Regions from separate parts of the Homo sapiens genome. Here region 1 is linked to region 2. The links are contacts of gene promoters, found by promoter capture Hi-C in blood cells and fetal thymus (Javierre and others, 2016). All regions are on one chromosome and are shown on one strand. Each heading gives the region's core, a stretch centred on a gene start or on the middle of the fragment in contact. The rest is flanking DNA. Distances are from core to core; before and after follow the strand shown.

The links. The method cuts DNA at HindIII sites, captures the fragments that hold promoters and counts their contacts. A CHiCAGO score of 5 or more calls a contact.
Region 1: the fragment with the promoter of RNF166 here is called in contact with a fragment that was not itself captured in region 2 in 1 of 17 cell types (naive CD4 T cells); the score reaches 6.0 in naive CD4 T cells.

What each region holds. Positions count from the first base shown.
Region 1 is chr16:88,704,686-88,708,643 of GRCh38, forward strand. It overlaps RNF166 (ring finger protein 166), which reads right to left and starts at 1,723. Exons shown (of 6, transcript NM_178841.4): 1 at 1,486-1,723. The coding sequence starts at 1,640. CTU2 (cytosolic thiouridylase subunit 2) reads left to right here and starts at 1,818. Exons shown (of 15, transcript NM_001012759.3): 1 at 1,818-1,913; 2 at 2,451-2,525. The coding sequence starts at 1,846. RefSeq lists an enhancer at 1,198-1,835 and silencers at 1,457-1,736, 1,777-2,086. The HindIII fragment of the contact is 28,082 bases long and covers 1-3,958 here.
Region 2 is chr16:89,221,223-89,225,724 of GRCh38, forward strand. ZNF778 (zinc finger protein 778) reads left to right here. Exons shown (of 7, transcript NM_001201407.2): 3 at 870-961; 4 at 1,935-2,061; 5 at 3,497-3,580; 6 at 4,333-4,409. Among named protein-coding and RNA genes, the nearest start is that of ZNF778, 5.8 kb to the left of the region's middle. The HindIII fragment of the contact is 7,033 bases long and covers 1-4,502 here.

The DNA of each region.
Region 1 (3,958 bases), core at 473-2,972, 520 kb before region 2:
CCTGCTCACAAGAAGGAAGTCCTGCCAGGCGCGGTGGCTCACGCCTGTCATCCCAGCACTTTGGGAGGCTGAGACGGGCAGGTCACCGGAGGTCAGGAGTTCGAGACCAGCCTGGCCAACATGGTGAAACCCCTTGTCTACTAAAAATACAGCAATTAGCCGGGCGTGGTGGCGGGTGCCTGTAATCCCAGCTACTCTGGAGGCTGAGGCAGGAGGATCACTTGAACCCAGGAGATGGAGGTTGCGGTGAGCCGAGATGGCGCCACTGCACTCCAGGCTGGGTGACAAGAGCAAGACTCTGTCTCAAAAAAAAATATTCCCGTTCAGAGGCTGCCCCCCCAAAATGTCACGGCTAAGTGAGATGGAGGAGCAGGGGCAGAGCCTGTAGCAGCCTCACAAGAGAAGTAGGTAGAGCTGTCCCAGCGTGGGCAGGCGCCTGTGCTGCCTGACACAGGTAATGAAGGCAGCTCTGCATCCTGACACTGGCCCTGCCACCTCCGTGGGTGACCAGCACACATCCACCTAGCAGTCCCAGCTCCCTCTGTACCAGGAGCCCCTGAAGTCAGCTGACTTTGCTTGCAAAATGTTCTAGAGCCTCCTACCAGTCTGGGTGCACCCCCCTCCACTCCACCACCTCAGCAGCTTGGATGTCTGCGGGGAAGCCCTCCTGCTCTCTCTCTCCCCTGCCACTGCTGATTTTGCTCAAGAGCTGTATTATTCAGCACTTAGGAGGGAGCAGACACTGATCTAGGCTTCCTCCCAACGGGGCTGGCAGCTCCAGAATACTTGAGCACAGCTCCCCGCCAGGAGAGCCACGTCCTCCAGTTTCTGTTCCTGAAACACCCTGGAGGAGCCGGCTGTGAGCCCTGGTGCAGCTGGAAACCCCAGCAAGGTGGTCAGTGTCTGCTCCTCTGTGGACCAGCCTGCCTGGCTACTCAGTGATCGGTGTGACTCAAGTTCTCCTTCAAACAAAACTAAGAACATCAGACTCCAAACAAGCCCCTCTAAACTTTAGGGAACTCCTTTCCTCTGTAGTCAAAACAGGCAGACAGCGGGTCCGAACAAGAGTTGATAGCAAAAACTACAAGTTATTTATTTACAACTGCCCATTCCAGCCGCACAAGCCCAAATCCACCACCACTGGCGGAGCGGTGGCACCTGCTGCCCTCTGAGTACCGGAGCGCCCGCCGCAGCCGCCGGGGACCCCGAGCTTGGGCAGGGCCGCAGGTCGCCCGGTGAACCGAAGCAGCAGTCGGACCGGGCGCCTGCGGCTGGCGCGAAGGAGGCTGGGCGGGGGATGAACGCGCCCAGAGGGCAGAGGCGGCGCGGCACAGGGAAACCCGGACCCCACGCGCCCCGAGGCCCCGGCGCCCCGAGTCCCCGCGCGCCCAGTCCGGAGCTGCACCGGGGCGGCCGCCGGCCTCGCGACCCCTCCCGCGGCGGGGCACGGCCCCCTCCCCGCGGCCCCTGGGCGGGCGCGCTCACGTGTGGCCGCAGCTGCCGATGGCCACGGGCCGGTGATAGACCTCCAGGCAGATGGGGCAGGTGTACTGCGCCTCCAGGCCGCTGTCGCCGCCCGCCGGCCCGGCCGGCGGCTGCCGCTGCTGAGCCGAGGCCACCAGGCTGCGGAACATAGCCATCCCGGGGCCAGGCCCGCGCCGCCCGCCGCCCGCTGTCCTGGCCCGGGCCGGCCCGCTAGTCACAGCCGCTACTGCGCCGCGCTGACGTCATCGTAGGGCGCCGCCCCCAGCCGGGCTTCGCGGCCGTCACGGCGCCACTCCGACGTCATCGGGGCGCGCCCTCGCGCTGTCGCCGCCACAGTCTGCGACGGGACCCGGCGTGCCCATGTGTCAGGTGGGCGAGGACTACGGGGAGCCGGCGCCTGAGGAGCCGCCCCCGGCGCCGCGGCCCAGGTAAGAGCTGGCGGCCGGACCCGCCAGGCCGCCCCTCGCCTTCCCGCCGCACTCCTGCCCCGAAGGGTCCCGGCCGGGCTTGCTCCGGGAAGCCCCGCGTGGAGAGCGGGACCTCGCTCCCTAGCACTCGGGGAATGCCTGTCAAGCGGTGACGGCCACCTAGAAGGGGACTTACTCCACTGGCTCGCGCCTCTCATCCTAGCAGCCACTGGGGACGGCTCTGCCGCTGACAGTGCTGTCCTTATTCGGAGAGAACTGGTGCCGTGAAGCTGTCTCGCCTCCCCGTGTCAGCCTTGGGAGACTGAAAAGCGGCCTTTATGTGCCCCCTGAGCCGGCTTTTCTAGGCTAAACATCCCCCCAGAGCCTTTGTTTTTCTTGAAGTTTGGACAGAACACAAGCCTGGGTTTGTGTGTGTACCGAGGTGCCTTTCTCTGACCCAACTCAGGGTGAGAAACAGGAGCTGTCTCCCCAAAGCCCACTAGGCGTGGGGAAGATGTGATCTGTGTTTCTCTCTTCTCCCCCCTCCCATCTCCAAAGCCGTGAGCAGAAGTGTGTGAAGTGCAAGGAAGCGCAGCCCGTTGTGGTGATACGAGCCGGAGATGCCTTCTGCAGGTGAGGCCTGGAGGTGGCTGAGACCCTGGCAAACATGGCCTCGCTAGCAGACAGGATAGCCGCAACTTGTGATGCTTTGTTAATTCTTTTTAAAAACATGTACTTACTTTATTCCTGCTCCTGATGGGGTCCCTCGTGCCCCTGGTGTTGAAGTGGAGGCGAAAGCATTGGTTTCCTGCTTGGGAAAGTTTCCCATGAGCTAGCCACAGATCCCCTGATGAGGTTTCTGATGGAACTTATGGGGACAGTTGGAAGTGGGGCCGTGGTGTCTAGACTGGGATAAGCTGTAGGAGGACCAGGCGTTTGGGGGCAGCTGGAATACATCTAGGGGCGGATCAGAGCATCTTGGGAACTTGGCAGATGGTCTGGGTGAAAGTTTTTAATCTCGTGTGAGATGCTTGTTTCATCTGTGGCAGGATAGAGGCTTGGAAGACCTCTAGCTTTCCCCCAGGCGCTTGTCATGTCTTTCTTGGCTTGTAGCCATTGTATTGTTCAGTTGTTTCCACTAGACTCATAGCTCCCTGAAGGGAGGACCAGGTCTCTCTCCTTTTAGCCCTCTTAATTCCCAGTGGTGGTGCGTGGTTTTTTTGTTGTTGTTGTTGTTTTTTTTGAGATGGAGTCTCCCTCTGTCACCCAGGCTGGAGTGCAACAGCTGGAGTGCATGATCCCAGCTCACTGCAACCTTTACCTCCTGGGTTCAAGTGATTCTCCTGCCTCAGCCTCCTGAGTAGCTGGGATTACAGGTGCCTGCCATCATGCCCGGCCAATTGTTTTTGTATTTTTAGTAGAGACAGGGTTTCACCATGTTGGCCAGGCTGGTTTCGAACTCCTGACCTCAAGTGATCCACCTGCCTCGGCCTCCCAAAGTGCTGGGATTACAGGCATGAGCCACCACACCTGGCCAAGATAGGTACTTCTTTAACCACCCAGGAGCATCTGAAATTGCCAAGAACACCAGGCTGCCGGCAGAATTCACTGAGGAGAGGCTGCTGTGGCTGTATGCTAGGCCCTTGTGGCCAGAAGGGCTTTTGCTGTGCTTGCTGGTCCCAAGGAACAGTGGGGAGCCGGCTCTCTAGGGGAAGGCCTTAGGAATCTACATCGAGCTGGGATCCCCAGGGATCATTCAGGTCAGCACGTGGGAGAAACCTTGGCCTTCCCTGACCCACAGGGGACAGCGTGGTTTCAGGAGCCCAGACGCAGCATGTACACGTGGACCCACCACGCTTGAATCCCAGCTGGTGGTGTAGGGCGCAGAGGCTCTCCTGGTCCACAGTGCGGAGGTGAAGCCCAGCACCTGTGTCTCCTTGTATGAGACTCCCCACGCCCAAAGCTGGGTCCTGGGGGTCACTTCCCATGTCCCAGCCTTGATACTTGCCAGTTACCTGCAGTCCCTCACCTGGCATCTTGCTGTTAAACACAGACTTGCTTTACTG
Region 2 (4,502 bases), core at 755-3,254:
CATGGACGGGGCCTGAGTAGTCACGCTCCGGGTTCCTATTGCAGCTGCTGGAGTGAGCCAGAGAATGCTGACCTGTAAGTCAGCCCCAGGGTGTGTGCTTTGGGGAGGGATGATGTGTAAACTCCTTCATGAGTTTTCTCACCACGGGCAAATGAAGAGTCACGTTCCTCAAGGCGTACCGTTCCATATCTGCAATAGGAGCCTGTTACCATTTCCTGATGGGCGGCATAGCTCACAAACATTTTGTGTCACCAGGCGAAACAGACTACCCTGGCACTGTATGGCTGTGTGTGTGTCTGTGTGTGTTTTCCTGAGGCACTGTATGGCTCTGTGTGTGTGTTTTCCTGAGGCACTGTATGGCTGTGTGTGTGTGTGTGTGTGTGTGTGTGTATTTTCCTGAGGGACTATATTTTCCTGAGGCATTGTATGGCTGTGTGTGTGTGTATTTTCCTGAGGCAGTTTATGGCTGTATGTGTGTGTTTTCCTGAGGCACTGTATGGCTGTGTGTGTCTTTTCCTGAGTGTGCAAGAGTACATGGGAATTCCCTCGCTCTGTATGACTGTGTGTGTGTGTGTGTGTTCCTCAGGCAGTGTATGGCTGTGTGTGTGTGTGTTTTCTTGAGGAAGTGTATGGCTGTGTGTGTGTGTGTGTTTTCCTGAGGTACTGTATGGCTTTGTGTGTGTGTTTTCCTGAGTGTGCAGGTGTATGTGGGAATTCCCTGACACTGTATATCTGTGTGTGTGCGTTTTCCTGAGTGTGCAGGAGTACGTGATAATTTCCTGCTAGGATGGAATGACTTCCGGGTCCATGAGTGTGGAATTAGGGTCAGCTCTGGGTTCTCATGCCTTCTTGCCTTCTTTGTTTTTTAGGAGGTCATGTTTCTAGGGACTCAGTCTGCCTTCATGAAGAACAGACACAGGCAGCAGGGATGGTGGCTGGCTGGCTGATAAATTGTTACCAGGTATGCCAAAACTGTATTTTTTCTTAAAATAACATACTGGTATTCAGCAGATAGACAAGTTTCTGTCTGAGCAGACTTGTCTGCACAGCCTCACTCAAGGACCGAGTCCCTAGTTGAACGCCTCCAGGGAGAAGAGCCTGGCTGGTCAGGTGTTACTGTGAAAATCCTCCCCGTATTTCAGTGTTACTTTTTTTTTTTGAGACGGAGTCTCGCTTTGTCGCCCAGGCTGGAGAGCAATGGCCCAATCTCGGCTCACTGCAATCTCCGCCTCCCAGGTTCAAGCAATTCTCCTGCCTCAGCCTCCCAAGTAGCTGGGATTACAAGTGCCCACCAGCATGCCTGGCTAATTTTTGTATTTTTAGTAGAGACGGGGTTTTGCCATGTTGGCCAGGCTGGTCTTGAACTGCTGATCTCAAGTGATCCACCCGCTTTGGCCTCCCAAAGGGCTGGGATTACAGGCTTGCACCACTGCGCCCAGCCACAACATTACTCATTATTTTCACCCTTGTGCCAAATGCGTGTTTCGTACTTTGCTTAGTGCTCTGACACATGGTAAGGAAGGGGAAGGTATCCTCTCTGGGAACTTATTTCCACATCACGAGTTACCACTTGTTTGTAGTGTGCTCAGGAGAGGGACATAAGGCGAGGGGAGTGCCCAGTGAGCGTGGTGAGAGAAGCTCACATGTTAGAGGTGTCGTTGCGGCCGTGTGACTGGAGGAGAGCGACAGGGTGCGCGTGACTGGAGGAGCGCGACAGGGCACGCGTGACTGGAGGAGAGCGACAGGGTGCGCGTGACTGGAGGAGAGCGACAGGGCGTGTGTGCGGGCAGAGAAGGGTTCCTGGGACCACTGGGCCATGGGGTAGACAGTAGGAGGCCTCACAGTCCCATAGGCGTAGGGCCCCGCCTCCTCATTCTTCAGTGAATACCGATGGACACGTTGGAAGGCTCCAACCGTCATGTGTGATGATTTAGGACGCGGTGACCTTTGACGACGTGGCTGTGGACTTCACCCAGGAGGAATGGACTTTACTGGACCCATCTCAGAGAGACCTCTACAGAGATGTGATGCTGGAAAACTACGAGAACCTGGCCTCAGTAGGTGAGGCTGCCACCGTCCTTTGCAACTTCTGTGGAACCAATACTTGATGTGTCCTTACTGTGTTCCAGGGTTGGTGACGGCAAAGCCGAGTACCACGGGAAGTAAGAGATATAACAACTGTGCTAGTAGGCTTGGTGCTAGTGTGGTCGTTTCCAGAATGTGGTCCTGGGGTCATGAGCATCACCGTCACTCCTCTAGAAACATGCATTCTGAGGCTTCAGCTGGGACACATTGGATCAGAATGTCTCCTGGGGGTGGGCCTGTCATCTCTCCTGTAACAAGCCCTCCCGACGATGCCAATTCACTCTAACACTGAGAACCACTGGGTAGTAGTTTCCCAAGTGAATGAAGATCTCTTATTGCACTTCTGTTATTTCCTATTTGAGTAAGAGTCTTTGTGGTTTTTACGTGTATATTTAAGCCTGAATGTGGGCTTCAGGAATCAGAGATAACCAGTTTCTTTGGGGCGCAGAAGGATGGAGTATTTGCACTTTGAGCCCTTTTGAAACAATTTCACTGCATTCTTTAGAAATGTAGTTCCTGGCATGCCACTGCACTCCAGCCTGGGTGACAGAGCGAGACTCCATCTCAAAAAAAAAACAAACGTAGTTCCTGGCCGGGCGCGGTGGCTCATGCCTGTAATCCGAGCACTCTGGGAGGCTGGGTGCAGTGGCTCAGGGCTGTAATCCCAGCACTCTGGGAGGCCGGGCGCGGTGGCTCAGGGCTGTAATCCCAGCACTCTGGGAGGCCAGGCGCAGTGGCTTAGGGCTGTAATCCGAGCACTCTGGGAGGCTGGGTGCAGTGGCTCAGGGCTGTAATCCGAGCACTCTGGGAGGCTGGGTGCAGTGGCTCAGGGCTGTAATCCCAGCACTCTAGGAGGCCAGGCGCAGTGGCTCAGGGCTGTAATCCCAGCACTCTGGGAGGCAGGGTGTGGTGGCCACGCCTGTAATCCCAGCACTCTGGGATGCTGGACGCAGTGGCTCATGCCTGTAATCCCAGCACTTTGGGAGGCTGGGCGCAGTGGCTCACGCCTGTAATCCGAGCACTCTGGGACGCCAGACGCAGTGGCTCATGCCTGTAATCCTAGCACTTTTGAGAGGCCGGGGTGGGCGGATCACAAGGTCAGGAGATTGAGACCATTCTGACCAACACGGTGAAACCCCATCTCTACTAAAAATACAAAAAACTAGCCAGGCGTGGTGGCGGGCACCTATAGTCCCAGCTACTTAGGAGGCTGAGGCAAGAGAATCACTTGAACCCAGGAGGCAGACGTTGCAGTGAGCCGAGATTGCACCACTGCACTCCAGCCTGGGCAACAGCGCGAGACGCTGTCTCAAAAAATAATAAAAAAAAGGAAATGTAGTTCCTGTTCACGGGTAGGTTTGTCATCCCCTGCCTGAGCCTCTTCCATCGATGTCTCTTTCCCTGTGTACAGGACATCACCTGTTCCAACCCAGTGTGATCTATTGGCTGGAGCAGGAAGAGGAGTTGAGGGCAGGGCGGAGAGCAGTTCTCCAAGGTAAGTGTGAAGAGCACGCCTGGTCGATGTCAAGTTTAGCAGCTGTGGGAGGATCCTGAGTGTCAAGTTTAGCGGCTATGGAAGGATTGTGTCAAGTTAAGCGGCTGTGGGAGGATCCTGAGTGTCGAGTTTAGCGGCTGTGGAAGAATCCTGAGTGCACGTTTTAAGATGCATTCTGGCACAGAACATGAGGCTGTTGGCTCTGGGTATCCTGAGCTTCCCGTAATTCCTTATTTTCCATCTGATCTGGATTTTCCCTTTCTTGTGATCTCATAAAAAACCTGCTGTTTTGTTCTTTCAGTTTGTGGGTTTTTTTTTTTTTTTTTTTTTTGAGACGGAGTCTTGCTCTGTTGCCCAGGCTGGAGTGCAGTGGCACAATCTTGGCTCACTGCAAACTCTGCCTCCTGGGTTCACTCAGTTCTTCTGCCTCAGCCTCCTGAGTAGCTGGGATTACAGGTGCGTGCTGCCACGCCTGGCCAAGTTTGTGTTTTGAATGTATGCCCTTTGTCCAGCTCTTTCCTGCTTTCTTTCATTGATAATATTGTTTCTGTTCACCTCACATTTCTTCTTTATGGACCAAATGTATTTTAAAATCTTCTAAATTATGACTCCCAGTTCCTATGATTCCAAATTTTACACATAGCCAAACTCCTTAAATCTATCTTTGCTTTGTTTTTTTTTCTGCCATGTCTTATATGAAAACAAATACCAATGAGTTTGATCGTTTTTAGGTCATTCTTCTTTCTTTTCAGAATGGCGACTTAAAACCAAAGGGCCAGCACTTCGGCAGGATAGATCTTGGTTCAGAGCATCAAATGAGACACAGACGGTAAGATTAACAAGAGAGATTTTTTTATTTATCACACTCATAAAAGATTGGGAATTCCACTATAGAAAATGAGCAAAATTGAGAGAATTTAGA